Linked DNA regions of Homo sapiens: regions 1, 2, 3, 4, 5 and 6 are each linked to region 7. The links are contacts of gene promoters, found by promoter capture Hi-C in blood cells and fetal thymus (Javierre and others, 2016). All regions are on one chromosome and are shown on one strand. The core of a region is centred on a gene start or on the middle of the fragment in contact, and the rest is flanking DNA. Distances in the headings are between cores, read along the strand shown.

What was found. The method cuts DNA at HindIII sites, captures the fragments that hold promoters and counts their contacts. A CHiCAGO score of 5 or more calls a contact.
Region 1: a contact is called between a fragment that was not itself captured here and the fragment with the promoter of BMS1 in region 7, in 1 of 17 cell types (neutrophils). The highest score is 5.5, in neutrophils.
Region 2: a fragment that was not itself captured here is called in contact with the fragment with the promoter of BMS1 in region 7 in 3 of 17 cell types (total CD8 T cells, total CD4 T cells and naive B cells); the score reaches 6.8 in total CD8 T cells.
Region 3: a fragment that was not itself captured here is called in contact with the fragment with the promoter of BMS1 in region 7 in 1 of 17 cell types (total B cells); the score reaches 5.2 in total B cells.
Region 4: the fragment with the promoter of HNRNPF here is called in contact with the fragment with the promoter of BMS1 in region 7 in 4 of 17 cell types (naive B cells, naive CD4 T cells, naive CD8 T cells and 1 more); the score reaches 8.0 in naive B cells.
Region 5: the fragment with the promoter of ZNF32-AS1 here is called in contact with the fragment with the promoter of BMS1 in region 7 in 1 of 17 cell types (total CD8 T cells); the score reaches 5.2 in total CD8 T cells.
Region 6: a contact is called between a fragment that was not itself captured here and the fragment with the promoter of BMS1 in region 7, in 1 of 17 cell types (naive CD4 T cells). The highest score is 5.2, in naive CD4 T cells.

Annotation. Positions count from the first base shown.
Region 1 is chr10:43,478,615-43,482,917 of GRCh38, forward strand. ZNF487 (zinc finger protein 487) reads left to right here. Exons shown (of 4, transcript NM_001355444.3): 4 at 2,815-4,303. The coding sequence ends at 3,308. Among named protein-coding and RNA genes, the nearest start is that of ZNF487, 44 kb to the left of the region's middle. The HindIII fragment of the contact is 5,148 bases long and covers 1-4,303 here.
Region 2 is chr10:43,580,712-43,584,918 of GRCh38, forward strand. No RefSeq gene overlaps it. Among named protein-coding and RNA genes, the nearest start is that of ZNF239, 8.2 kb to the left of the region's middle. The HindIII fragment of the contact is 163 bases long and covers 2,836-2,998 here.
Region 3 is chr10:43,359,247-43,363,151 of GRCh38, forward strand. No RefSeq gene overlaps it. Among named protein-coding and RNA genes, the nearest start is that of FXYD4, 10 kb to the right of the region's middle. RefSeq lists enhancers at 2,344-3,256, 2,854-2,943. The HindIII fragment of the contact is 3,108 bases long and covers 999-3,905 here.
Region 4 is chr10:43,407,315-43,411,076 of GRCh38, forward strand. HNRNPF (heterogeneous nuclear ribonucleoprotein F) reads right to left here and starts at 1,872. Exons shown (of 4, transcript NM_001098204.2): 1 at 1,817-1,872. RefSeq lists silencers at 1-211, 1,492-1,611, 2,062-2,291 and enhancers at 382-441, 582-631, 599-1,202, 642-981, 1,712-1,771. The HindIII fragment of the contact is 6,154 bases long and covers 1-3,762 here.
Region 5 is chr10:43,641,998-43,646,145 of GRCh38, forward strand. It overlaps ZNF32-AS1 (ZNF32 antisense RNA 1), which reads left to right and starts at 1,875. Exons shown (of 2, transcript NR_047557.1): 1 at 1,875-2,110; 2 at 2,853-3,050. ZNF32 (zinc finger protein 32) reads right to left here. Exons shown (of 3, transcript NM_006973.3): 2 at 4,067-4,148; 3 at 1,865-2,804. The coding sequence starts at 4,136. The coding sequence ends at 2,053. The region is part of intron 1 of ZNF32-AS3 (ZNF32 antisense RNA 3); the gene reads left to right. It overlaps ZNF32-AS2 (ZNF32 antisense RNA 2), which reads left to right and starts at 3,945. Exons shown (of 3, transcript NR_047558.1): 1 at 3,945-4,148. RefSeq lists an enhancer at 3,639-4,148. The HindIII fragment of the contact is 1,613 bases long and covers 502-2,114 here.
Region 6 is chr10:43,613,739-43,618,055 of GRCh38, forward strand. ZNF485 (zinc finger protein 485) reads left to right here. Exons shown (of 5, transcript NM_145312.4): 5 at 2,553-4,166. The coding sequence ends at 3,631. Among named protein-coding and RNA genes, the nearest start is that of ZNF485, 9.5 kb to the left of the region's middle. The HindIII fragment of the contact is 2,517 bases long and covers 1,039-3,555 here.
Region 7 is chr10:42,781,497-42,785,278 of GRCh38, forward strand. It overlaps BMS1 (BMS1 ribosome biogenesis factor), which reads left to right and starts at 1,299. Exons shown (of 23, transcript NM_014753.4): 1 at 1,299-1,334; 2 at 2,866-3,074. The coding sequence starts at 2,899. RefSeq lists an enhancer at 1,130-1,479. The HindIII fragment of the contact is 6,696 bases long and covers 1-3,026 here.

The DNA.
Region 1 (4,303 bases), core at 574-3,073, 700 kb after region 7:
AGGCTGAAGTGGGAGGATCGCTTGAGCCCAGGAGTTTGAAGCTGCAGTGAGCTATGATCATGCCACTGCATTCCAGTCTGGATGACAGAGTAAGAGCCTGTCTGTAAAAACAAAACAAAAATCAAGCTATATGGAGTTTGAGAATCATATATGAAATGTGAACATGAAACCTTAGAATATAAAAGGAATATAAATGATATATGGTCCAAATAATAAACAAAATAGAATGTTACCTCTCAGTGGACCCAAATTTAGCTTTTGAGTTTATTTTTGATGCAGTTCTTTTTTCTTTTTTCTTTTTTTTTTTAATGAGATGGAGTCTCGCTTTGTCTTCCAGGCTGGAGTGCAGTAGCCGATCTCTTTTGATCCTATCTCAAAAAAATTTTTTTTCTAACTTAGATAAACAAAGAGAAAATTTATATATATATATATTTGTGTGTGTGTGTGAATATATGTATGTATGTATGTGTGTATATATATATACACACATATATACACATATATATGTGTGTATATATATATATAAATTTGTACTGATGAGGTCTTGCTGTGTTGCTCAGACTGGTCTTGAACTCCTGACCTTAAGCAATTCTTCCACCTCTGCCTCCCAGAGTGCTGGTTTAGAGGCTTGATCCACTGTACCTGGCCTACTTTTATTTTTTAATTGAATGAAACTCATTCTGTTTTTGCTGTTATCATTTGAGTGAATTGGTCCCATTTATAATCTAAGAAGCATGATACTATTTTAGTGATCTATTTTTCTTAAGTTTGAAACATTTTGGTATGTTATTTCTTAGCAATTATTTCAACATTACTCATCAATTATGTCCAACTGTGGTAAAATAAACTAAAATAGAAAAGAATGATGGAATTGCTTGTAAGGATAATAGAATAGTAAAGAACACTGTCACTATTACATCATCCTTCAATTTTCTTATTGAGCTGCTTGAAGCATTACTTGTGACAAAAATATAAAAGAAGCCTGGAGAAACCTTATTTGTAGTTTCTTTCTTTTTTTTGTTGTTTTTATTTTATTTATTCATTTCATTTTGAGATGGAGTCTCACTCTGTTGCCCAGGCTGGACTGGAGTGGTGTGATCTCATCTCACTGCAACCTCCGCCTCTCGGGTTCAAGTGACTCTACTGCCTCAGCCACCCGAGTAGCTGGGACTACAGGCACCCACCACTGTGTCCTGGCTATTTTTTATTTTTTTGTATTGTTACTAGAGACGGGGTTTGCCGTGTTGGCAAGGCTGGTTTCAAACTCCTGACCTCAGGTGATCCTCCTGCCTCGGCCTCCCAAAGTGCTGGGATTACAGGTGTGAACCACTGCACCTGACTCTCTTTCTTTCTTTCTTTTCTTTCTTTCCTTCTTTCTTTCTTTCTTTCTTTCTTTCTTTCTTTCTTTCTTTCTTTCTTTCTTTCTTTCTTTTTCTTTCTTTCTTCCTTGCTTCCTTCCTTCCTTCCTTCTTTCTTTTCTTTTCTTTTCTTTTCTTTCTTTTCTTTTTTTTGAGATGGAGTCTTGCTCTCTTGCCCAGGCTGGAGTGCAGTGGCACAATCTAGGCTCACTGCAAGCTCCACCTCCCAGGTTCAAGCCATTCTCCTGCTGCAGCCTCCTGAGTAGCTGGGATTACAGGTGCGCACCACCACACCCAGCTCATTTTTGTATTTTGAGTAGAGACAGGGTTTCACCATGTTGGCCAGGCTGGTCTCGAGCTCCTGACCTCGTGATCCACCCCCATCAGCCTCCCAAAGTGCTGGGATTACAAGCGTGAGCCACCGCACCTGGCCACTTTTTATTATTATTTTTTTATTTTTTGAAATGGAGTCTTACTCTGTCACCCAGGCTGGAATGCAGTGGCATGATCTCGGCTCACTGCAACCTCTGCCTCACGGGTTCAAGCGATTCTCCTGCCTCAGCCTCCCGAGTAGCTGGGATTACAGATGCACACCACCACACCTGGCTAATTTTTGTATTTTTAGTAGAGATGGGGTTTTGCCATGTTGGCCAGGCTGGTCTGGAACGCTTGACTTCAGGTGATCCACCTTCCTTGGCCTTCCAAAGTGCTGGGATTACAGGCGTGAGCCACTGCGCCCACCTCTCTCTCTCTCTCTTTTTTTTTTTTAATAATTCAATGGGCACAGTTGAGAGTTCAGAGCTTTTATTTTCTTCCATTAATTGCAAAGAGTAGAAAATTGACAAGAGGAAGACTCTTCACAATTATTAGGCAAATCAGAAGATGAAGCAGAACCACTGTAGACTCTAATAATTACAGTATAATTGATCGCATAAGTGAAATCTCAGACTATGAGTTAGATGATGATATTCTAGATGAATAAAGGTATGCATATGATCCTGTTATAAGAACAGCCTGGGCCGGGTGCAGTGTCTCATGCCTGTAATCTCAGCACTTTGGGAGCCGAGGCAGGTGGATTTCTTGAGCCCAGGAGGTCAAGGCTGCAGTGAGCTGTGATGCTGCCACTGCATTACAGCCTGGGCAACAGGAGTTTGACACCAGCCTGAGTAACAAGGCAAAAAACTCCATCTCTACAAAAAATACAAAAAATTAGCCAGGCATGGTGGTACATACTTGTAATCCCATTTACTCGAGAAGCTGAGGTGGGAGCATCACCTGAGCCTGGGAGGTTGAGGCTGCAGTGAGCCATGATCACACCACTGCACAATCCAGCCTGGGTGACAGAGCCAGACACTGTGCCAAAAAAAAAAAGAAAAAAAAAGCATGTGAATATGTCTCTTTTTCATGAAAAATATGTTAACATTTATAATCTGTGATAACTTATTATTATTTCTAGACTGCTGCATAGATGATGACCTGATGGAGAAGAGACAGGAAAATCAAGACCAGCATTTGCAGAAAGTTGATTTTGTCAACAATAAAACACTGACTATGGACAGAAATGGTGTATTAGGAAAAACATTTTCTCTTGACACAAACCCCATTCTATCAAGAAAAATACGTGGCAACTGTGACTCATCTGGAATGAATTTGAATAATATTTCAGAATTAATTATTAGTAATAGAAGCTCCTTTGTAAGGAACCCTGCTGAGTGTAATGTACGTGGGAAATTTCTCCTCTGTATGAAGCGTGAGAATCCTTATGCCAGAGGGAAACCTTTGGAATATGATGGAAATGGGAAAGCCGTCTCTCAGAATGAGGACTTATTTAGGCATCAGTATATTCAAACTCTTAAGCAGTGTTTTGAATACAATCAGTGTGGGAAGGCTTTTCATGAAGAGGCAGCCTGCAGTACCCATAAGAGAGTGTGCTCATGGGAGACCCTGTGAATATAATGAACATGTGAGAGCCTTTTCCGATAGACCAATATTCATTGTTCATCAGAGAACTCACATAAGGAAGAGTCACCATGAATTCAATGAATGTGAGAGGAGGTCTGGTGAGAGGCCACCTGTAAATAAACACCACAGGGTTATGGAGATGAAATACTATGAGTGTAATGCGAGTGAGAATAGTTTTGGCAAGAAATCACTCCTCATTCTACAAAGTTACAGAGGAGAGAAAACTTGACTGTAGTAGACATTTGGAAGTATTCTGCAAGAAGCCAAATTTCACTCAACATCAAGAAACACATATAGGAAAGAATGCCTATAAAATTAATCAGTATGCTAGTACATTTTGCTGTAAGCCAAAGCATTCTGTATATCAGAAAACAGATACAGAAGAAAAACTCTATGAATGTAGTGAATGTGGGAAAACCTTCAGCCATAAATCCTCTTTTATCCTACAGCAGAGGATACACAGAGGAGAGAAACCCTATGAATGCACTGAATGTGGGAAAACTTTTGGATATAGGTCATGCCTTGCAGTACATCAAAGAACACACACGGGACAAAACCTATGAATGTAATGAATGTGGAAAAAACTTCTGTGAGAAGTCAAATCTTCATGTACATCAGAGAACACACACAGGAGAGAAACCCTATGGATGTAATGAATGTCAGAAAGCCTTTGGTGATAGGTCAGCTCTAAAAGTACATCAGAGAATACATACTGGCGAGAAACCCTATGAGTGTAAGGAATGTGGGAAAACTTTCTCCCAGAAGCCAAACTTCATTAATCATCAGTGAACTCACACAGGAGAGAGACCCTTTGAATGCAATGAATGTCAAAAATCCTTCTCTGTGAAGTCAAAACTTAGAGAACATCAGAGAATTCACACAGGGGAGAAACCCTATGAATGTAATGAATGTGAGAAAATGTTCTACCACAAGTCATCCCTCACAGTACATCAGAGAACCCACACAGGAGAGAAACCCTATGC
Region 2 (4,207 bases), core at 1,667-4,166, 800 kb after region 7:
GTTTGGTAGAATTCAGCAGTGAAGCCACCTGGACTTTTCTTTGATGGGAGACTTTATTACAGCTTTGATCTCATTACTTGTTATTGGCTTGTTGATGTTTTCTTTCCTTCATGGTTCAGACTTGGCAGGTTCTATGTGTCCAATTTATCCATTTATTCTAGGTTTTCCAATTTGTTGTTGTATAGTTGTTTATAGTCTCTAATGTTTCTTTGTATTTCTGTGGTCTCAGTTATTTAGTCTCCTTTTGTTGTTTCTGGTTTTATGTATTTGGGTCTTCTCTCTTTTTTCCTTAGACTTGCTAAAGGTTTGTCGATTTTATCTTTTCAAAAAACTAATTGTTTTGTTGATATTCTGTATATATATATATATATTTTACCTCAACTTCATTTATTTCTGCTCTGATAGTTATTGTTTCTTCCCTTCTAATTTTGGATTAAGTGTGTTCTTGCTTTTCTAGTTCCTTGGGGCACATTGTTAGATTTTTTATTTGAAGTCTGTCTACTCTTTCTTTCTTTTTTCTTTGTTTTTTGAGACAGAGTCTCGCTCTGTCACCCAGGCTGGAGTGCAGGGGTGCAATTATGTCTCTCTGCAGCCTCGACTTCCCAGGCTCAAGTGATCCTCCCACCTCAGCCTCCCGAGTAGCTGGGACTACAGGTATGTGCCACTACAACAGCTAATTTTAAAAATTTTTGTAGAGATGAGGTCTCACTGTGTTTGTCCAAGCTGATATCGAACTCTTGGCCTCAAGCAGACTTCCCACTTCGGCCTCCCAAAGTGCCGGGATTACAGGCAGGAGTCACTGTGCCTGGCCTGTCTTTCTGCTTTTTTGGTGAAGGTGTTTATTGCTAAAAACTTCCCTCTTAGTACTGCTTTTTCTGTGTTCAATAGATTTTGGTATGTTGTATTTCCCTGTTCATTTGTCCAAGAAATTTTAAATTTTTCTTCCTAATTTCTTCATTGACCCTTTGGTCACTCAGGAGCATGTTGCATAGTTTCCATGTGTTTGTGAAGTTTCTAACATTTCTTTTCTTCTTGATTTCTAGTTTTATTCCATTGTAGTTAGGAAAGATACTTGATATGATTTTTACTTTTTTTTTCTTTTTTTTTTTGAGACAGGGTCTTGCTTTGTTGCCCAGGCTGGAGTGCAGTGGCATGATGATGGCTCACTGCAGCCTTGACCTCCTGGGCTTATGAGATCCTCCCCACTCAACAACCTGAGTAGCTAGGACTACAGGTATGTGCCACCATGCCCAGCTAATTTTAAAATGTTTTGTAGAGTTGGAGTTTCACTTTGTTGCCAGGCTTGTCTCAAACTCCTGGCCTCAAGTGATCCTCTTGCCTCAGTCTCCCAAAATACTGGGATTACAGGTGTAAACCACCACGCCTGGCCCGATTTCTACTTTTTAAAATTTACTGAGGCTGGGCACAGTGGCCATGCCTATAATCCTATCACTTTGGGAGGCCAAGACATGTGGATCACTTGAGGTCAGGAGTTCGAGACCAGCCTGGCCAACATGGTGAAACCCTGTCTCTACTAAAAATACAAAAATTAGCTGGGCATGGTGGCAGGAACCTGTAATCCCAGCTACTCAGGAGGCTGAGGCAGGAGAATTGGTTGAACCTGGGAGACAGAGGCTGTAGTGAGCCAACATCAGGCCACTGCACTCTGGCCTGGGTAACAGAGTGAGACTCTGTCTCAAAAAAAAAAAAAAAAATTATTGAGATTTGTTTTGTGGCCTAAGGTGTGGTCTATTATGGAAAATGTTCCATGTGCTGATGAAAATAATGTGTGTTATGCAGCATTTGGGCAAATGTTATGTAGATGTTACTTAGGCCTATTAAGTATAGTGTGCAGTTTAATTGTGATGTTACTCTATTGATTTTTTTTGTCTGTATGATTTATCCATTACTGAGACAGTCCCCTACTATTATTGTATTGCATGCCATCTCTCCCTTCAGACCTATTAATGTTTGCTTTTTAAACTTGGGAGCTCTGGTGTTGCATGCAAATTTATAATTATTATATCCACTTGCTGAATTGATCCCTTTATCATTATATAGTGACCCCTTTTGTGTCTTTCTACAGTCTTATTTTGTATTCTATTTGATCTAAGTATAGTGAGTCCTGCTGTCTTTTGGTTTCCAGTTTCATGAAGCATCTTTTTCCATCCCTTCACTTTCAGTCTATGCGTGTCTTCAGAGGTGAGGTGGGTTTCTTGTAGTAGCATATAGTTGGGTCTTATTTCTTTATCTACTCAGTCACTCTAACCCTTTTAATTGGAGAATTGAGTCCATTTACATTCTGTTTTATTATTGATAAGAAAGGACTTACTACTGCCATTTTCTTGTTTGTTTTCTGGTTATTTTGTAATTTTGTCTTCCTTTCTTCCTTTCTTGTTGTCTTCTTTTGTGGCTACGTGATCTTCTTTGGTAGTATGTTTTAATTCGTTGTTTTTTTTACTTGCAGTGAATCTATTTTCTTTTTTTTTGCATTGTAGTTCCTGTGAGGAAACCAAAAAATGTATCTTACAGATATAACAAGTTATTTTAAACAGATGACAGCTAAACTTTGATCACAAAGAAAAGAAGATAAACAAAAAAGGAAAAAAAGACCAGTTCTACACTTTAACTCTATCCCCCCATTTTGACTTTTAGTTGTCTGAATTTACATATATTTATATTACTTACCTCTTGACAGGTTGCTATAGCTATTATTGTTCATGACAAATCTATCATGCCTGTTGCGGTAAACTGAGGACCAGAGAGACCGATATGGGGAATACAGGAGGATGTTTATTTAAGGAACTCACCAGCTCAGTGGATTCACATCCAAAAAGCTTCAGGCTGATACCAGGTGTGATTTACAGAAGAGAAAGCAGGAGAATGGATTTGGATGAGGTGATTTGGAACGATTTTTACCTCGCCACAAAGTTTTTCTTAGGTTTTCATTATAATATTGCTGTCCTAAGCATGTTAATTCTCTTACTCGGTCTGTAAAAGCTTTTCCCCAGTAAGCAACACAGTATCTCCTGATAATAGAAGTGGCTTTTTTGTTTGTTTGTTTGTTTGAGATGGAGTTTTACTCTTGTTGCCCTGGCTGGAGTGCAATGGTGCAATCTCAGCTCACTGCAACCTCAGCTTCCCAGGTTCAAGCGATTCTCGTGCCTCAGCCTCCCGAGTTGTTGGGATTACAGGCATGCACCACCACGCCCAGCTAATTTTGTGTTTTTAGTAGAGATGGGGTTTCTCCATGTTGGTCAGGCTGGTCTCAAACTCCTGATCTCACATGATCTGCCCGCCTTGGCCTCCCAAAGTGAGCCACCACGCCTGGCCTAATAGAAGTTTTTAAGAGCCAGACGCTTGAACTTGTGGGCATCGGTTTGGGGGAAAAGTCAGTCAGAGTAAAATTATCTTGTGGCATTGACTCTTTTGCTTCCTAAGGCCACTGGTCTCCCATGTTAGTTCCTCCACAAACATAACATGAGGAAATGCCTAGGCTGCCAGCAATGTTTTCAGCCAACTGAGCAAACAGATTTTTGGCTACAGGAGGAGGCTCTGGTAACTTTTGGTCTACATGCTTATAGAATGACTTAAAGACTTGGAACTGTTGCTGGGCTGGACGGCTCCGGGTTCCTTTTTTGATAACATATAGGTAAGTTGCTGGGTATGTGTGTATGTAGACATGTATGGGGCAACCTGCAGTCCACATGGGTAGGTCTGGCTTTAGAATGGTGAAGTTTACAGGATTACAGGTTTTTGTTTCATAATCTGGTTTACCGGCATTTCAGTAAGCATAATTGGCCTTTGTTGTGTGCTAGGGTGCCATGATATGCATTACTGACAATGTTTTTCTGGGGTCCCAGGGGAACAAGGTGGAGTTGCTCTTGGCATGCATACATATTTGTAGTCATTTCTATAGTATCTTTCTAAAGGTAAGTTACCACAGACAGGTGAGTCTAGGTATGCTGCCTGACAGGCATCAAAGTACAGAGAAATAGGCCCTTGGTAAAAAAGAGGGACCTTGGTCTGGTTTTAAAAGGGGACCTTCCTTTGACTCTGCGTGAATGTCAAACCATTCACCAGGTGAAAATTTAGGGTCATAGTATACATAAGGCTGGCCATCCTCTGGGTCACAGACTGAATAGGTGGTCTGATTGTAAGTACAAGTTCTTAAGTGAGTCCTTGTACACTTATAAGTATGGTACGA
Region 3 (3,905 bases), core at 1,303-3,802, 580 kb after region 7:
AGCCACTACACCCAGACAAATTTTGGATTTTTGGATTAGGTATGCTCAACCTGTATGTTGAAAACAAGGTGCCAGGGAACAGGCTCTCAGTGACTGCAGGCATCAGGTGATGTGCCAGGGAGACACAGAAAGGAAGAGGAGTGTTTCAACATGTGGCCAGTAAAAGACTTCCAAGAATGGCCGGGTGCGGTGGCTCACGCCTGTAATCCCAGCACTTTGGGAGGCCCAGATGGGCACATTGGCTGAAGTCAGGAGTTTGAGACCAGTCTGGCCAACATCGTGAAACCCCATCTCTACAAAAAATACAAAAAAATTAGCCGGACATGGTGATGTTCGGCTATTCAGGAGGCTGAAGCAAGGCAGGGGAATTGCTTGAGCCAGGGAGGTGGAGGTTGTAGTCAGCCGAGATCGCACCACTGTACTCCAGCCTGGGCGACAGAGCAAGACTCAGTCTCAAAAATAGAAGACTTCCAAGAATAAAAATATATTACTTAGGTTAAGTTCGGTGGGTGACAGAGGAAGGAAATAGACTCAACTCAGGCCAAAAAAAAAAAAAAGGAGGCGGCAATATGGAGTAACTAATATTAAACAAGAGTTAAGTAAATCTTCAAATGGAGATTTGGAATAAAAATAGTATGGTGCAACAAGAGCGAAACTCCATCTCAAAAAAAAATGGTATGTATGGTGTTCAGATTCCACTAGATATATTACAACTCATGTAGCCATTTTACTTTAAAATATAAATATTAAAACATACCAGAAATTGTATCTTTTGCAACTATTTGAGCTTATGATGAGAAACTTTAGCAACATAAAACTGTGGAATGGATATGTGGTTTTTCAGAAATGAGAGCAAACATTCAAAGACTACTCTATTACATAAATACGGGAATAGAAGAGTGGCCCAGAAACGAAATAGCAGGAGCTTCTAGGGTTCAGCAAGAGAGGGCTGAGGGAGACTGCCCAAGAAGGGATTGAAGCGGGGCCTAGAATGCCAAAGCTTGTACTGCACTTTACGTGTGTCACAGGAGGACAGAAAGGGGTGAGTCACAGAGCTGTTTAGGAGGCAGAATGGACAAGAATTGTTTGATTGGTTATGGGGATTTGGAGGCAAATAAAGTCTAGGATGATGCTCAGGCCTTCGGCTTTACCACTTGGATGGAGCACAGAGAGTAGGCGGGGTGGTTTAAAGAAGAAACCAAGTATTTATTTCAGGAAATGTCAAGTTTCAGCAAACTATGAGACATGCATGTGGAGACAGGAGGCAGGCAGTGGGCCTGGTGGTCTCCAGCTAAGGAGAGAGGTCAGAGAGGTGAGTTTCCAGGAGGGAGCAGCCAAATCTCAGAGCCTGCTGAGGGGGTTAAGACCTAATTATCCATCCAAAAGTGTATCCATCCACCCAAATATTACTCAGTTATTTTATTTATTTTTGAGACAGAGTCTCGCTCTGTCGCCAGGCTGGAGTGCAGTGGCGCGATCTCAGCTAACTGCAACCTCCGCCTCCCGGGTTCAAGCAGTTCTCCTGCCTCAGCCTCCCGAGGAGCTGGGATTACAGGTGCGCCACCACGCCCAGCTAGTTTTTGTATTTTTAGTAGAGACGGGGTTTCACCATGTTGGCCAGGATGGTCTCGGTCTCTTGACCTCATGATCCACCAGCCTCAGCCTCCCAAAGTGCTGGGATTACAGGCGTGAGCCACCGCGCCCGGCCAATTTATTTATTTTTATTGAGACGGGGTCTTGTCATTTTGCCCAGGCTGGTCTCGAAGTCCTGGGTTCAAGGGATCCACCTGCCTAGGCCTCCCAGTGCTGGGATTACAGGCGTGAGCCATGGCGCCCTTTCTACTCAAGTGATTTATCAATCATTTTACTCAATAGTTAATTCACACATCCATCCAGTTCCCACAATGAATTCCATCCATGTGCCAAGGTCTCTGGGACAGGAAGCTGAGTGACCTGAAATCACAGCCCTGGGAGAAAAGGGAGGTGAGTGGTCAAGACAGATACACCCATACCTGTGATGTGGGGTTTGGGAAAGGTGGGCCTCCCAGAGGGGAGGCAGGTGAACAGGAAAGGTGGCTTCCCAGGTGAGGCAATTGTTGAATTGGACAGAGTGGAAATGGCTCACAGTGGTCCTTGGGAGAGGATGAGAATTAGGATGGAGAGAAAAGATTGAATACGTGAGATATGGAAGAACTAGAAGGATGGGCTCTCACTGGGGGGGCGGGGGGGACAGGGAACCGAGTTGCCTAACTTCCCTTTGGTGGAGTCAGACTGTATGCTGAGCGCTGTGACTTTGGACCACTGTCCATGTCCTTGAGGGGGTCATATCCTGAGGAGCTGGCACACATTTCAGCAGATATCTCCATATGACTGGGTTTAGTGGTGGCCTGTGGGACCACGTGGGAAAGAGACCCACCTGAGATGGGAAATTCTGAAAGGTCAGAGATGGTGGGGGAACGGAAAAGTTTAACAGTTGTTGACTGTGAAGTGCCTGCAGGAAATGAAAGGGAGGTGCCCAAGAGCTAAGAAGTCTGGTATAGGAGAAGCATGAGTAGGAGCTGCAACAGGGGGCTAAGAGGTGACCTGTGCAGTAGAAGGAAAGCACTCGCGTTCTCCCAGGTGCGGAACGAGCAAACGTTGATGACAAATGACTTTGCCTACCATCTTGAACCCTTTCGGCTTCTCTTCTTGCACAGGTCTTCATTCTCACCCTGCTACACAGCCCCTACCAGAACGTTCTGAAATGCAAACCTAACAACTGTCTCACCCCAGCAGGAAACTCCCCAGGGTCCCGGGCCCCCTGCGGGGTTGCAGGCCTCACTCTTCGCGCCCATCCCTCCGCCCTGACCGCCCTGAGCTCGCCCCCAGTGCTGGCCCTTCACGTCCAGTTATCCCTCCCAGCCTCCAAGGTCCCCGTTACCGAAGACCGCCACCATCACGACATAGCGCAGCACATATGGGTAAACAAATGGACTGAGACTCAAGCAAAGAAGTAACCCGAGACGCGCGTTACACGGAAAACGACTGCGCAAGCGCGGTAGAGCAGGGGCTTGCAGGTGAGTGGGAGCAGCCAATCCACGCGAAGGGGGTCGGGACCACTTCCGCGGAGGAAAGCCCCGCCCACACCTCCTGGGCCCTCGCCTCACTGGCGGTTTCTCCCGCGAGCCAGCCTCATAGACATTCCTTGGTGCTGATTGGCTGGCGGCCAGCGCAGTCCTCCTTCCTCTGGCTCTCTCGCGGCCCCTTGCGGGAAGGCCTCCCAGAGGCCGTGGGGTCGTTTCTGGCGGCCTAAGTGGGCCTAACTTTTAGAGTCCCGAGGGTCGTCGCTGCCGGGGAGATCTCCGCCCCATTTCCGTGCCGCCTTGTCCTCAGGGCCCAAAGCCCCCTGCGCTAAGGGCCCTGTCCCATCTCTGCCCTACACGCGGGAGTCAGCCTAAGGCGGAGCCCTAGGACAGCAGCCGCGCCTGACGCTGCTCGCCTGCCTAGCACAGGCAGGGGGTGAGCGGAGTCGGCTGCCTCCCTCCCCAGGGCCCTCCAAGGGAGTGGGCTCCACATCCATGGGCCCGAGGAATCTGCGGAGAGACGGGAAGAGCAGGGGACACTCACAGGGCGGGGGTCCAGGCGGGAGTCCAGTAGTCCTCGTGGAGACAGCTGGGAAAGGCCTCGGGGCAAGGGACCTCGGATTTCCTCCTCTGCCTCAAAACAGACAGTCTAAGCTGGGTGCGGTAGCTTGCGCCTGTAATCCCAGCACTTTGGGAGGACGAGTTGGGTGGACCACCAAGTCAAGAGATGGAGAACCATCCTGGCCAACATGGTGAAACCCCATCTCTACTAAAAATTAGCCGGGCGTGGTGGCGCGCGCCTGTAGCCCCTGCTACTTGGGAGGCTGAGGCAGGAGAATCGCT
Region 4 (3,762 bases), core at 622-3,121, 630 kb after region 7:
CGCCCGCGAGCAGTTTCGAGAACTAAAGAGGCGCGTCAGCTCGTCCCCGGGCCGCCCGCGGGCAATGGCCGAGCTCGGCTCTCCTTCCACCCTCCGCCGGGACACACGCGGAGCCGAGCGGGGGTCCCAGGCGCCTAGGGGGAGGGGTTCCCGCGCCCGGGGCGGCCTTGGGGGGAGGGCGAGTCGGGTGCCTTGCTCCTCAAAACCCTGGTCCACGACTCTGCGGTTGGGGGAGCCGGGCAGCCGGCGCAGCAGGAGCCGGGCCCCGTCCACAAGTTTCCTACGAGCAGGGCGGAATCGACGAAAATACTTAATACAAACAAACAAAAGGAAAAAAAAAAGGACGACTAAGCTGAAGAGCGCGCACGAGTCAGATTTTCACCCCAAATACAAACACGATACCTCTAGGAGCAGGAGACCAATACAGGGACCGCGCTCCGAGGACACGCGGCGCAGCCGAGGAGGAAAAAGGGCCCGGGGCCGAGAGCTAAGGCTACGGGAACCGGGCGTGGGAGGAGGGCGGAGCCAACTCCCCACAAGGAAGTCTTGTGCAACTCTCAGGCGCCTGCAGCCACGTGAGCGCGCGGCTTTCATTTTACTCAGGTATTATTACTATTATTACTTCTTTTGAGACAAGGTCTCATTTCCGTCGCCCGGCTGGAATGCAGTGGCACAATCACTGTCACTGCAGCCTCGACCTCAGAGCAAGCGACCCTCCCGCCTCAGCCTCCCGAGTAGCTGGGACAACAGGCGCGCGCCACCACACGTGGCTAATTTTTTTTTCTTTACTTTTCAGTAGAGACAGTCTATGTTGCCCAGGCTTGTCGGGAACTCCTGGGCTCAAGAGATCCTCCCGGCTGGGCCTCCCACTGCGCCAGGCCTGTTCTCACTTTCAGAGCCCTCCGGCAGTCGCCAGCTCCCCGCCAGGGGGCCGGACTAACGCACCCGGCCGTCCGTGCCTTCCCCGCGCTTTCCTGACTCCAAAATCTCAGCCCGCGGTGCTCACCGCGTGGGACCACTGTCTGGGCGTGCGGCTCTCGACCTCCGACGCTGCGTCTCCCGATCCCAGTGGGTCCAGTTCTTGCCGGTCCCACGTACGGGCCCCTCGACCTCGAATCCCGTCACCCAAATCTCAGCGCCACGGCCCCTCATTATGTGCAGTCCTCGCTCGGTCCCAGGTTTGCGGCGCTTAAACTCAGATCGCTCTTCCCTGATCCCAAATCCCAGCCCCAGCCCAACGATCCCCACCCCAATAGGCCCAGTCCCCAGGTAGTCCGGGTACGGGGCCCTGGACTTCGGATAGTCTCCCTAATCTCAAATCCCACCCCCCGTCCCCACCCCCAGGGGGACCCGGTCCCCGCTAGGTCCCGGGTGTGCGGCCTTCGACCTCGGAGACTTCGGCCGCCCCTCACCTCGGCCTCCGAGTCTCTACACTCCCGCTCTCATATCAGGCACCCCGGTGGTCCCTTGGAGCACCTAGAGGAGGGTGGGACGCGGGGAACTTGGCAGTTGTAGCAGAGGCAGTTGAGGCTTGTTGACCATCACCATGGAAACCCCCGCCTGCGAGCACGGGGCGGAGCCTACGAGGGGCGGGGTCAGGCGCGCTGCCGGCCCCAATCCTCAGCGCCTGCCCGTCGAGCGCACGCGGCTTTGCCGGAAGCCCTCCTGCTCCCGGCGAGCCAGGCCCCGACTAGGCCCTACTGCCCGGCTCAGCCCTTTGCCCTGGACACCAGGAAACAGAAGCCCAAGGAGCCCGCGTCCCCACCCCCTGCTACCTGCCGGCGTGACAGCGATTCGGTGGCCCCCCGAACCCCACCTTGAGGAAGACGCGGCGCAGTCCTGCTTCCACGACGGAGCCGGAAGGACGCAAGGACCGCGGCAGGGCGGAGTTTCTGCGTCCGGCGTCCGGGGGCGGGGCCGCGACGGCGCATTGTGACGCGCCAGAGCTGAGCCGCCGGTTGGCCGGCTGGGCGCGGAGCAGAGCCGACACGGCTGGCGGGGGAGGCGGTGGAGGCGGACAAGCGAGGACGTTTCTGGAGAGGAGAAGGGAGGGGAGGGGAGGGGATAGGGGGAGGGGGAGGAGGAGGAGGGAGTGGAGCGGCGGGAAAGATCCCTCTGACTGCCCCTGAGGCCCTGGAGGAAGGACACTGGTGAGCCCCGCAGGACACTGAAATGTGCGCCGAAAGGACGCCTGATGGAAGACTAGGATGGGAAAAGGAAATGAGAGCCGATGGCAGGGCGTGGTGGCGCAAGCCTGTGGTCCCAGTAATTTGGGAGGCTAAGGCGGGAGAATCGCTTGAGCCCGGGAGGTCGAGGCTGCAGTGATCCGTGACTGCTCCATTGCGTCCAGCCTGGGCGACAGAGCGAGGCGCTGTCTCAAAAAATAAAATAAGGAAAGTAGTACACTGAAGGCCGGGCGCGGTGGCTCACGCCTGTAATCCCACCACTTTGGGAGGCCGAGGCGGACGGATCAGGCGGTCGGGAAATCGAGACCATCCTGGCCAACATAGTGAAACCCCTACTAAAATACAAAAAAATTAGCCAGGCGTGGTGGCGCGCGCTTGTAGTCCCAGCCACTCGGGTGGCTGAGGCAGGGGAATCGCTTGAACCCGGGAGGCGGAGCTTGCGTGAGCCGAGATCGCGCCACTGCACTCCAGCCTAGCGACAGAGCGAGACTACGTCTCAAAGAAAAAAAAAAAAAAAAGGTACACTGAGTACTCCGGAGACCGCCTAAAGGGGTCTCAGAGCAGGGCGTTAGGAGGGATTTGTCAGGTTGAAGTTGCTCAGGTGATAAATTCCGTGGTGTGAGAAGCCCCCAAACCTCAGAATGTAACTCAGACCCAGGTCGAGGGCAAGATTTTCAGTCACAGAGCACCTGAACACACAGATTTGGTGGCTAATGGCTAAGCCAGGGACAGATTTTCTTTCTTTTCTTTTTTTTTTTGATGTATTGTAGGGCTAATAATTGTAACCATTTTATTTTGGTGGATCTTCTTCATGAAGAGATGATGTCAAGGCACTCATCACAGGTTAAGCTGAACATTGTTACTATTGTTATTATTTCCAGACTGAGTATCGCCCTGTCATTCAGGCGGGAGTGCAGTGGTACAATCACGGCTCACTGCAGCCTCGACCTCCTGGGCTCAAGCGATCCTCCTGCCTCAACCTCCTGAGTAGCACCACCACTCTCGGCTAAATTTTGTATTTTTTGTAGAGGCGAGGTTTCGCTGTGTTGCCCGGGCTGGTCGGGAACTCCTGGACTCAAGCCATCCGCCCACCTACGCCTCCCAGAGTGTTGGGATTACTGGATTGAGCCACGCATCTGGCTGAACGTTATTTTTTAAATCACCAGAGAAAGTAAAGGAGTGCTCAAAATAGTGTCAGATGATGAGTGGGATGATTGTGATGAAGGAAGGAGTTTGTTAAAAGAAAAAGCTAGTTCCAAGAAAGAGAATGGAAAGAGTAAAGCAGGAGCTGTCAGAATAGGTAAAAATGTCCAAAGAGAAAACTGCATAATTTGAGGCAAAATTACAGAAAATAGTTCCTGCAAAAATCAGATAGGTATTCAGCATCATAGGAAAGGGGCGAAAATCAGATAGGTAGGTATTCTTAAGAAGTTGTGGCCGGCCGGGCGCGGTGGCTCGCGCCTGTAATCCCAAGACTTTGGGAGGCCGAGGTGGGTGGATCACCTGAGGTTAGGCGTTTGAGACCAGCCTGGGCAACATGGCGAAACCCTGTCTCTACTAAAAATACAAAAAAAAA
Region 5 (4,148 bases), core at 625-3,124, 860 kb after region 7:
TTTCCTGTTCTGTGAAGGCACATAAGTGGAATTATACTATTTGTGTATTTGGCTTCTTCAACTCAAATAAAACTTTCAGATTCATCCATATTGTTGATGTACCACGTGTATGTTCTTTTTTATTGCTGAGTTGTATTTCACTGTATGGATATACTACAGTTTCTTTATCCCTCACCCATTGTTGGACATTTCTAAGTGTGTGGCTATTATAAATGAAGATGACATGAACATTCTTGTATACAGCTTCAAATGTTATTGTGGTATCTTTGGAATATTTTTGTATTATTAGAATCCAGTGTTTCCAAATTGTTTCAGTGCTCAAAGACCTTTGAAATTTACCTCTCTACATGGTAAAGATTTACTATTACAAGCTTTTTGGGATTAAGGAAGCAATAATTTATAGCAGGGGGTTCCCAACCCTGGGCCATGGATCAGTACCAGTCTGTGGCCTGTTAGGAACTGGGGCACACAGCAGGAGGTGAGTGGTGGGAGAGCAAGCGAAGCTTCATCTGTATTTACAGCTGCTGCCTGCTGCTCACATTACTACCTGAGCTCTGCCTCCTGTCAGATAGTGGCAGCATTAGATTCTCATAAGAGTGTGAACCCCATTGTGAACTGTGCATGCAACGGATCTAGGTTGTGCACTCCTTATGAGAATTTAATGCCTTATGATCTGTCACTGTCTCCCATCACCCCTAGATGGGACTGTCTAGTAGCAGGAAAACAAGCTCAGGACTCCCACTGATTCTACCTTATGGTGAGTACCTTATAATTGTTTCATTATATACTTCAATGTAATAATAATAAAGTGCACAATAAATGTAATGTGCTTGGATCATCCCAAAATCATCCCCCTCTGTGGGAAAATTGTCTTTATGAAACTGGTCCCTGGTGCCAAAAAGGTTGGGGACCACTGATTTATAGGATCCACTAGAAAGGATGGAATGGTGTCTTACCAAGAAAACCAAAATCTCTATCATTCATCATTTCACTTACATAAATGCTCAGTATGAAAAATTATAGAGATGGCTAAGATTTTAAAAAATGGAAATGGAAATTTCCCCTCAAAACCAATTTCTCCTCTGCAGCCTTCTTCAAATCTCATCCCCTGGAGGTCAGAAAAAAGGATGGGTTAGAATTCCAAATTTCTTGGTGTGTGTGCAGGAGGAAGAGGATAGTATTGTTGGAAAGTGGAAGTTCATTATTGACTACAAACTACAAGTCTGGGTTCAGTAATAACACTTATATCCTTTCTAGATAACCCAACCCCAAGATATTGCTGCTGTTACCAAAGAGGGAGTGAAGGTCTCTGAAAATGTAGGAGTCCCTTTAGTAGATGGGGAGAAATGGGTTAAAGATTTTTAAAAATTGCACAGACAGTAGTTGTTTGCTCTTTGGTTACAGGTGAATTATCTCTATCCTAGTTAGGAGTGGAGGACTGAAGTATGTCTCAATGCACAAACTAAGGCTGTGCAGGCTTGGAAAGAAATTTTCTTTTGTAATAAAAGGCTAGGCCCCTTGCTATAGACATGAGTGATTAGTTACAATAGGTTATTGGGGGTATCATCCAGGTAATGAAATGTTCAACAAGAAGATTATAAAGGTAACTAGATTTGCCCCATGGATTTTGCCCAGTGGTTTTGAAGGCAAAACAAGATTAATTTGAATATGTAAGGAAGAAAAATAACTTGGGATTGATGAGGGGCTGATTTTTTACATTTATAAAAGCCTGATGGTGTCAACTACAAATTTAAAATCTGTATTGGGTATACACAGAACAATCTCTAGTGTGGCACCAGATTAATGGGGGTACCTTGAAAAATCAGGTCAGAATAAAGTGACAGAAATTATAAAACATACATGATAATGATAATAAACAAGACATTTATTTTTCATACTCTTTTGGGGGAAAGGAAAAAAATCAGTTTGCCCTACCCAATGATGGTCTTTCTGAAAGATTCTCCATTCATTCCATAGAACTGGATAGGTTGCTTCATCTCAGAGGATTTTGTACTCTTAATTCATAAAGAGAACTTCTCTTCAGGAAAGTGGTCAAAGGGTGAGCCTCTGTGAGCAGCTTCGCTGGTGCACAGCCAGACTCCCTCTCTGGGTGAAGCTTTTTCCACACTGGCCGCACAGATAGGGTGTCTCTCCTGTGTGGATTTTGCCATGCAGAATACAATTCCCCCTGGTGTGGAAACTCTTCCTGCACTGGGTACAGGCATAGGGCTTCAGGCCTGTGTGGACTCTGATGTGAACAATTAAGCTTCCTTTCTGACTGAAGGCTTTTCCACACTGATCACATCTATAGGGCTTCTCACCACTGTGAACTCTCCTGTGAACAGCAAGGTTACTCTGATTCCTGAAGCTTCTCTGACAAATAGCACACTCGTAGGGTTTCTGTCCAGTGTGGAGTCTCTCGTGGACAGCGAGACTACCTCGTTGACTGAAGCTTTTCCCACACTCCTTGCACTGATAAGGCTTCTCTCCCGTGTGTATCCGTTGATGTGTAACAAGATTGCCTTTGGCCCTGAAGCTTTTTCCACAGTGGGTGCACTCAAAAGGCTTTTGACCAGTGTGGATTCTCTCATGTAACGTTAGACTACCTTTTTGCCGGAAGGATTTTCCACACTCCTGGCACTCATAGACCCTTTGTCTCACTCCAGGTGAATCTTCCTGTAGTGTCTTCGAATCTGGGGATTTTTGTTCCAGCTTCTCTCTTCTGAAAGAATTTTGGATATCCCAGCTTGAGGATCCTGTAGCCTCAGAGTGGTCATATTTGTGGTGGGCTTCAGTCATCACATCTGATAAAATGAGAGGGAAGTCATATAAGAAGCACCAATAATGCTGAGTTAGAATAGGGAAAAAGAAACATAATACTTTGAGTGCTTATGATGTGCCAGGCCTTATTCTTTGCATAGACAATGCAATCCTGAAAACAATGCCATGAGAGTGATACAGATAATGGGAGCAAAGGGAGCCTGTCAAAGGTCACAGAGCTAGGTAAGTTAGAGCTGACTCAAATAGGCATTCTCCATAGCAGTGTACTGCCTCTAAATTTAATTTAGGCCAACAAATAACCTTGTAAGATAGACATGGTTTTCTCTATTTTACAGGTCAGAAAACAGGCTCAGAAAATTTAGAAAACTATACAGAATCACACAGAGCCCCATACCCAACTTTTATCTGACTCCAAAACAGGTGTGGATCCAGGCTATATAAGGCCTAAAACTTTCCCATTTTAGAGGCACCCTTTTAAGAAAATGTATAAAATTAAGCACAGGGTCTTGGAGAGACCAATCCAAGTGAGGGGTCCTAAAACTGAAGCTGCATTTGCTTCTTCAGAAATCCACCTCTGTCCAATCTGTTCTGACAATAGAATAAGCACCATGACCTCAGAAAATATGTAGCACAATCCTGGGTACTTTACATCTATCATTGCTAATCCCTGCAACCCTACAAGATAGAACTTATTGTCCTATTTTACAGACGAACCTGGAGCTTAAGGAAGTTAAATAACCTGTCTGATACTGCAGATCTAGCCATGGCAATTATAGAATCTGATCCAAGGAATTTTTCCCATTAAAATCCTTGCTATTTTCAGTCTACTAAGCTATGGCAAAACTGAAATCAATTTTGGTTTGGAAGTTATTCTCTATGCAGATATTGACTTTTTTTTTTCCGAATACTGCCCTGCATCTGAGCCTCCTGGTGCACTTTAAATATGGGTCCATTCATCACCATTAACAGTTTTCTTGGTGTCTGTCACTCCAGGGTAATCTTCTCCTTGTTCCCTTGCCTTATTCAGAGACAGTGCTGAGATTTAAGCTGCTCATTCATTCTCAGAGACTACTTCAACGCTACCTCCATATCAAGATGGTTCTCTTGCTCTGTTTCTACTATTACTTCTAACTCCAGCTCACAGGCTTTTCTTATAACCCTAGGAACAGCAAGCTCTACCAAAGCAAGGTCTCCTCTGCTTCCTCAGACTGCCGACCAGTGCTGAGAACAGGGACACTGAATATCTGTGAGCTGAGCGCATCCAGCCATCAACTGACTCACTCACTGAAGAACGCTACATTCTGGGCATATCTTCCATGACAGTCCAGCAGGGTAGCTGTTGGAAATCCAAACATGTCCACTCCTGC
Region 6 (4,317 bases), core at 1,047-3,546, 830 kb after region 7:
AGATAATCTTCCAGAGTTTTGTTCCCAGTTATACTCCTTCATCAGTGTGTGAGAGCACTCCTTGTTCCATGTCCTGGCTAGCACTTCCTGTGGTCAATCTTGTGAAGTTAGTCATTCTGGTGGATGTTCTGTGTGCCTCATTGTGGTTTTCATATCCATGTCTCTATATCTAATGAGGTTAAAGACATTTTAGGGCTGGGCATGGTGGCTCACGCCTGTAATCCCAGCACTTTGGGAGGCTGAGGTGGGCGGATCACCTGAGGTCAGGAGTTCGAGACCAGCCTGGCCAACATGGTGAAGCCCTGTCTCTACTAAAAATACAAAAAATTAGCTGGGTGTGGTGGCACACACCTGTAGTCCCAGCTACTCGGGGAGCTAAGACAGGAGAATCACTCGAACCTGGGAGGTGGAGGTTGCAGTGAGCTGAGATTGCGCCATTGCACTCAGCCTGGGCGACAGAGTGAGACTCCGTATCAAAAAAAAAAAAAAGACCTTTTAGAATATTTATTGGTCCCTATAGAGCATCTCTGATTGGGTAACTATTTGAAGAGCCTGTTATTGATTACATGTATTGTACCATCCCTCTCTCTGTTGTTACTGACTGTTAATGGTCTTGATGAATAGCAGTTCTTCCTTTTTCTGGGCTCAAGCAATCCTGTCTCAGCTTCCTGAGTAGCTGGGACTACAGACACATGCCACCATGCTCAGCTAATTCAAAACATGTTTTTTTTCTGTAGAGATGGAGACTTGCTATGTTGCCCAGGTGGTGGGTCTGGACCTCCTGGCCTCAAGCCATCCTCCTGCCTCAGCCTCCCAAAGTGCTGGGATTACAGGCATGAGCCACCGTGCCCAGCCCAGTTCTTCCATTTGATCAATCCCTTTCTTTTTTGTCAGTGCTTTTTTGTGTCATGCTTTATTTAAAATGTTTATTTTAAATTATATATTAACAATTATTTACTAACATTTATTATTTTTGTGATTTTAATATTTTTTCTTTTCCCGAGATCATGAAGATATTCTTCTGTGTTAATTTCTAGAAGCTTTATTATTTGGTTTTTATGTTTACATTTACCATCCTCTTAGAATGGATTTCTGTGCATCATATGAGTTAGGGTTTATATATTTTTTTTCTCCTAAAATGTACTAATGCAGAATCTCCTCTTCCTCACTGCTTTGCAAGACCACCTTTGTCATAGAAGAAGTGCCCATATGTGTCTTCACGTTGCCAGCTTTACAATCAGTATCTTGAAATTTTCTCTAGTTTGATCATAATACATTAAACACATATCCCATCAAAGGCCATTGGAAGAATGTGGGCTGTTTCTGACTGGGCTTCACCTTCAACTTACATTTCCTTGAAAAAATAAGTCTTAGCTCTAATATCCATTGCATGGAATTTCTCCCCAGACTACTAAGTATAAATACATATAAATATATGTATGTGTATATATCTTTAGGTATAGATAGATACAACTTATGTTTATAAGAAAAGCGCATTTAGTAAAATAATTGGTTGGTGATTGTTAATTTTACTACAAGTTTGGCTCTATTAGTTTTTCAGAACGTTTTTGTCTGAATCATTTCGCTCTGTCTGTCTTAGGTCTTGTGTCTGTACTTTGTAAAAAGCTAGAGAAAATTCACATAGTACACCCATTGATTGGTAATTTTTTTTTTGTTTTTTGAGACAGAGTCTTGCTCTGTCACCTAGGCTGGAGTGCAGTGGCATGATCTCAGCTCACTGCAACTTCTGCCTCCCGGGTTCAAGCGATTCTCCTGCCTCAGCCTCCCGAGTAGCTGGGATTAAAGGCATGTGCTACCATGCCTGGCTAGTTTTTGCATTTTTAGTAGAGACAGGGTTTTGCCATGTTGGCCAGGCTGGGCTCGAACTCCTGACCTCAAGTAATCCACCCGTCTCGGCCTCCCAAAGTGCTGGGATTACAGGCATGAGCCACCGTGCCTGGCATAGGTATGTTGTTTTTTAGATATGTTAAAAATTTAGTTTATAGTAAAATCTTATTGGCCTGAGAACTATTTTTGTTCCTTGAATATTTTTTCTGTTTTCTTTTTTCCACTGAGCAATTAAATATTGGTTCACTCTTAAATCCTCACAGAGAACTATTTTTCTCAAGTTCTTGGTGACATCATAATGTTCTCAAATATACCACCTGCAGAAATCTGCCCTAGTAGTAATTATAGCTTGCTTTGTGACTCTGGGCTTTCTCCTCAATTTTGTATTTATTCTCACATTGTCTTTTTTCTTTTTTAGCTGTTTCCTGTGTTGTCTTCCTAACTTGGCAACTTCTTAGGGGCTCACTGCATTCTTTAAATGCAATGTTTATAGTACAGATTCTTTTCTTTTCTTTAAAATCATACTTCCTTTTCCTGCCCTTAGTCTGGCCATCTTTTCTCAGCAAGAATCACAAGTGGGACACATTAATAATTTTTCATAACCTTTAGTTATGTAGAATAGAACATTATTCAAGTCCTTGCACAACTCTCACTTTCAGCATTTCAACATAAAGAACATTTGAATTTTTAAAATTTTCTTTCAGTCGAGGATTACTGGTTTGAAACAAAGATGTCAGCCCTAAAGCAAAGCACTTCTGAAGCATCTGTTCTGGGAGAGCGAACGAAAAGTGTCATGATGGAAAAAGGCCTGGACTGGGAGGGCAGAAGCTCCACAGAGAAGAACTATAAGTGCAAGGAATGTGGGAAAGTCTTCAAATACAATTCGTCCTTTATTAGCCACCAGAGAAATCACACCAGTGAGAAACCACATAAATGTAAAGAATGTGGGATCGCCTTTATGAACAGTTCATCCCTTTTAAATCACCATAAGGTTCATGCAGGCAAACAGCCTTATAGATGTATTGAATGTGGGAAGTTCCTGAAGAAGCACTCAACGTTTATCAACCATCAGAGAATTCATTCTAGGGAGAAACCCCACAAATGCATTGAATGTGGAAAAACTTTCAGAAAGAACTCAATCCTTTTAAGTCATCAGAGAATTCATACTGGCCAGAAACCCTACAAATGTAATGACTGTGGGAAAGCCTTCGCTCAGAATGCAGCTCTTACTCGTCATGAAAGAATACATAGTGGAGAGAAGCCTTTTAAATGTAACAAGTGTGGGAGAGCTTTCAGGGATAATTCAACTGTGTTGGAACATCAGAAAATCCATACTGGTGAGAAGCCATATCAGTGTAATGAATGTGGAAAAGCCTTTAGGAAGAGCTCAACTCTTATTAGTCACCAAAGAATGCATACTGGGGAGAAACCCTATCACTGCAGTAAATGTGGAAAATCTTTCAGGTATAGCTCATCCTTTGCTGGTCATCAGAAAACTCACAGTGGAAATAAACCGTATCAGTGTCGTGACTGTGGGAAGGCCTTTACAAAGAGCTCAACCCTTACTGGACATCAGAGAATTCATACTGGAGAAAAACCCTATCACTGTAAGAAATGTGGGAAAGCCTTTCGGCACAGCTCAGGCCTTGTTGAACATCAGAGACTCCATACTGGGGAAAAACCTTATAAATGTAATGAATGTGGGAAAGCTTTTCCCCGAAGTTCAGCCCTTAAGCAACATAAGAAAATTCATAATAAAGAAAGAGCCATGAAATGTAGTTAGTGTGGCAAATTGTGCAGAGTAGTTTATTCCTTCTGACCATCATAGAGGAGACATTAAATAAATTATGCATTTAACAGAAATACTCTGTACTTCTGAGAGAACACATCACTTGTGAGGATATTCATTGTGAGGTTCTACTAGTGAAATATTTGAAGAAACTAAATGTATGTCAGTATGGAAGTAGTTATAGCATACTGTGTGCTAATTGAAAAGAATGAGGTGGAGCTGTAAATACTGTACAAAGCCAGGCATGGTGGCATATGCCTGTAGTCCCAGTTACTTGGGAGGCTGAGACAGGATTGCTTAAGCCCAGGAGTTTGAGTCTGTAATGCACTATGATTGTGCATGTGAATAGCCACTGCACTCCAGCCTGGGCAACATAGCAAGACTCCATCTCTAAGTAAAAAAATACAACAGTAGAAATATACCCATGATAATATACCCAATATACCCTTGTTAAAGAAGCAAGTTTCAGGAAATCTATATTATATGCATTCAAAAAGACCTGGACAAATAAAGACCAATCTTAACAGCAGTTATCTCTCTCTCTCTCTCTTTTTTTTTTTTTTTAAAAGAAACTAGCTCTTACTCTGTCACCCAGGCTGGAGTGCCATGTGATCATAGCTCACTGTAGTTTTGAACTTGGGCTTGAACAACCTTCCCACTTCAGTCTCTGGAGTAGCTGG
Region 7 (3,782 bases), core at 49-2,548:
AACACTCTAAGCTCTTCAGGGATAAGGGAAGCATGTGCCACGTGGGTAGCCTCCCAAGTCCAGCACCCAGTATCTAGAATATGCAGAGTGAATACCTGGGGGCTGCTGAGGGCAAGAACAAGGTGCCTGTGAGAAGACCTGACGCCTGGGGTTCTCGTGACAGGAGTGGGCCTAGTTTTTGGTGTAGAATTGAGCCTTGAATGCACCAGCGGGATCATATTGAAAAGAAACCCTCCAAGACTAAAGGAAGATGCATCCTCTGACAATGTACGCTCTGTAGGCTCCCAAGTAGCTGGGCTGGGGATTAGATGGACTCCAAGGCATTTCCTCAGGTGGCAATGGGCGGATCCCTGGGAAGGTAAAGCTGTGCAGTAAGAAAACGGCAAGATGCTACGTTCACTCAGGTAAAGCCCCTTTCCCGGGTTTAGGGAGGGCGAGGCAGTTTAGGCTGGGTCAGTTTGTCCCTGCCCTCACGGTTTGTTGGTCCTGGCAAAAGAGGGCCTTATGTTATTTATTTTTCTTAGAGACAGTGTCTTGCTCTGTTGCCCAGGCTGAAGTCCAGTGGCTCATCTCAGTTCACTGCAGACTCCGCCTCCTGGGATCAAGCGATCCTCCCACCTCAGCCTCCAGAGTAGCTGGGACCACAAGCACCACAGGCGCCCGGCACGATGCCGGCTAATTTTTTTTTTTTTTTTTTTTAAGAGAGAGAGGTAGGCTCCCTATGTTGCCCAGGCTTGTCTTGAATTCCTGGGCTCAAGCAATCCTCCCTCCTCGGCTTCCCAAAGTGTAGGGATTACAGGCGTGAGCCACTGCGCCCTGCCAAAAGAGGGCTTTAGGGCACCCCAGAACGCGAGATCCCCCTCATCTGTAATCTTTAAAGAGGAGGAAGTGTACTCCAAATCAAGCGATAGTCCATTCGTCCTTGGCACGGTGACTGCCGGGAGGCCAGGACCAAATGTGTCTCCTTCCGGCTTTTGCACCACACTAACTAACCGGCGCCAGGCCGCAGAGCCGCCCTGGCCTTCGGCGAGAACTCAGGCGAGCGCGGCGCACGCTGCTCCGGAGTCCCACCGCGGAAGTTGAGGCCGCGGATTCCGAGGGCGGGGTGGAGAGGAATCTGGAAGGACCTGGACCCGGTGGAACGCACTGCGCGGACGGCGCCTGCGTCCGCACTCAGCTGTTCAGCCCTCTTTCTTCAGGCTCTCCCCTGAAAGCCGTCCCCATGCCGGTCTCTTTTTTCTGCCTTCTTGTTTCCCTCCGGCGAGTCAGCGCGACTGTGAATTTCCGTTTCCGGCGGTGTCCATGCTGACCTGAGGAGTCGCGGCTGCGAGCAGGTTCGGTGCTGCGGGTTGGGGTAGGCGGCGGTGGGGTCCCTGGTTCTGGGGCACTGGGAAGATCGCGAGTCGTGCGTGTGGGAAGGTCCTCCCCCGGTCCTCCGGGTCATCTTTGCTCCCGAGGAGCGGCATATTTCTCATCTGGCGGAGGTGTCCTGGGGTAGTTGGGTGAGTGACGTGATGAATCCCTGCAGAGAGCCCAGACGGGGAGGGAAGGTGGCTGGGCGACGTCGTTTCCTGGCGACGTGGTCCCGGTAGGAGACTTAGACCTGAGCTGGATCTGTTGACCCCAAATTGTGCTTTTCCCACCAAGAAGAAAGACAGGGAGAGAAACATTAGTACAAGTGCTGAACTAAAATATAGCAGAGAAGAAACATAATCTCTGAAATCACACAGCTATTCGGTTTCAAAGCGTTCCTAGCGCCCAGCTCTCCTAACTCCTGGCCAGTGTTCTTGACATTATGGTAATACATAAAGACTTTGTTTCCGCTGGTGTGTGTCTGTGGGAAGCCTCTGACTCACCTCCGTGCTCCAGTAGCACCCTGTGCAGCCTTCCAATGTCGCCCTTATTGCGTGGCGCGGAAGATAATAGTTTGGATTTCCTCTGCAAGTCAGATAATAGCTGTATCCACTTACTGGCACAGTGCCTAGCACATCGTAGACAGACACAAATATTTATTCAACGGAATGAATACAGTACCTTAATTGAATGAAATGGCATCCTGCTCCGCTTTTTTTTTTTAATCAAGCTGTCAGATTTTATGCAGCCCGATTTCCTAAAATAACTCACTAATTCAGTGATTGCCAATTTATTAGCCACAGATTCCCAGGTAACTCAGAAATCACTGGAAGGGTCTCTGTAAGTTCATGGGGTCTCCAGGTGTCATCTAGAACCAGTCCTATCTCACACGTACAGCTATTTCTATTTTTCAAATGTATGTAGATAAGTTGTAATTTAGGAGTTTTACAGAGTCAACAGGTACTAAAAGTAATACTGCGATCATATTGGAGGTTCATAAAAACGTTTCACATTTTTTTATTAAAATTTAAGTTTTAGTTTAAGTTAGGAAACCACTTCATCAGTCCAGTTGATACCTGGGTCTGAGCTGTCCAGTATGGTAGCCACATGTGACTATTTGGAGTTAGAATGAAATTAATTAAAAACTCATTTTTTCAGTTTCCCTAAGTATATTGTAAGTAACCACATGTGGCTAATGGCTAAATGGCTGAAAAGTACAGATATAGTATATTTCTATCCTTGCAGAAATAGATACTGCTGATGTTGACACTTAAGATGAATAAAAAGTAACTTAACCATAAAATGTAATCTTAAGAGAGGTAACTCATCTAATTTATAGCATAACAGAGAGAAATGAAATTGGGGATGGTTAAGCAGTTTCTACCCTTGTTCAGTGAACAAATACATCATCTCTTCATAAAGAAATAAATGAAATTTACTGTTTTTCCCTGGGTATTGCCTGGATTGTAAAATGCTTCTCCCATCTCCTTACCCCAACCTTCTTCCTTGTAGGTTAGAGTTACTTGTTATTGGTAAATAGCCACTATGGAGGCTAAGGACCAGAAGAAACACAGAAAGAAAAACAGTGGACCCAAAGCTGCAAAGAAAAAGAAGCGGCTTCTGCAGGATCTCCAGCTAGGAGACGAAGAAGATGCCCGGAAGAGAAATCCCAAAGCTTTTGCAGTTCAGTCTGCTGTGCGGATGGCTCGATCCTTTCACAGGTATGTTAGGCTACGGTCTGGTCATTCTTCCATTGATTCTTTTTTTAAATAGTAGGAGCCTCTCACAGGTGACATTTGGATTCACGAGTCTAGTCCAGCTCCAAAGGACATGGAGATTCATGGTGTGTGGCTTTCACTAAAACGTGAGAAGCTTTTCCCATAGAAGCTGCCTTGCCTCCAGCATCTGCATACTGGTTAGTGTTTATTGCCCAGGATACAAGAATTTATAGACTTTGTTTGTTCCTAAATTTTAAACTGTTTCTATGGTGATAAGTGTGCTTTTTCCCCCCAGGTATGTTTTACATAGTTGTAATATAAAATACAAAAATTACAATATTTAATACTAACATAGCTTTATTTAGTGAGCCCTTGTGATATGCCTAGCAGTGTACTTTAAACATTATTCAACTAAATCCTTCCAGCAGCCTTACCAGAGTAGGAATCATTCTTGCCCTCATTTTATGGGTAAGAAAACTGAGATCAAGAAAACAAGTTACCTCCAATCATATAACCAGTAAGTAGGAGAGCTAAATGTAACTCCAGCGCCTCTGCTCTTATCTGCTATGATGTACTGCCTCGCTATTTACCTTTTGGTTTTTTAAAAAACTATTAAAATCACTCTTAAAACAGTCAGATTTAAGGAGTGTTTAATTTTCGCTCTCTATAGTATTGAAGTCATCTTGTTACATCTTTATTGAACAGCAATTA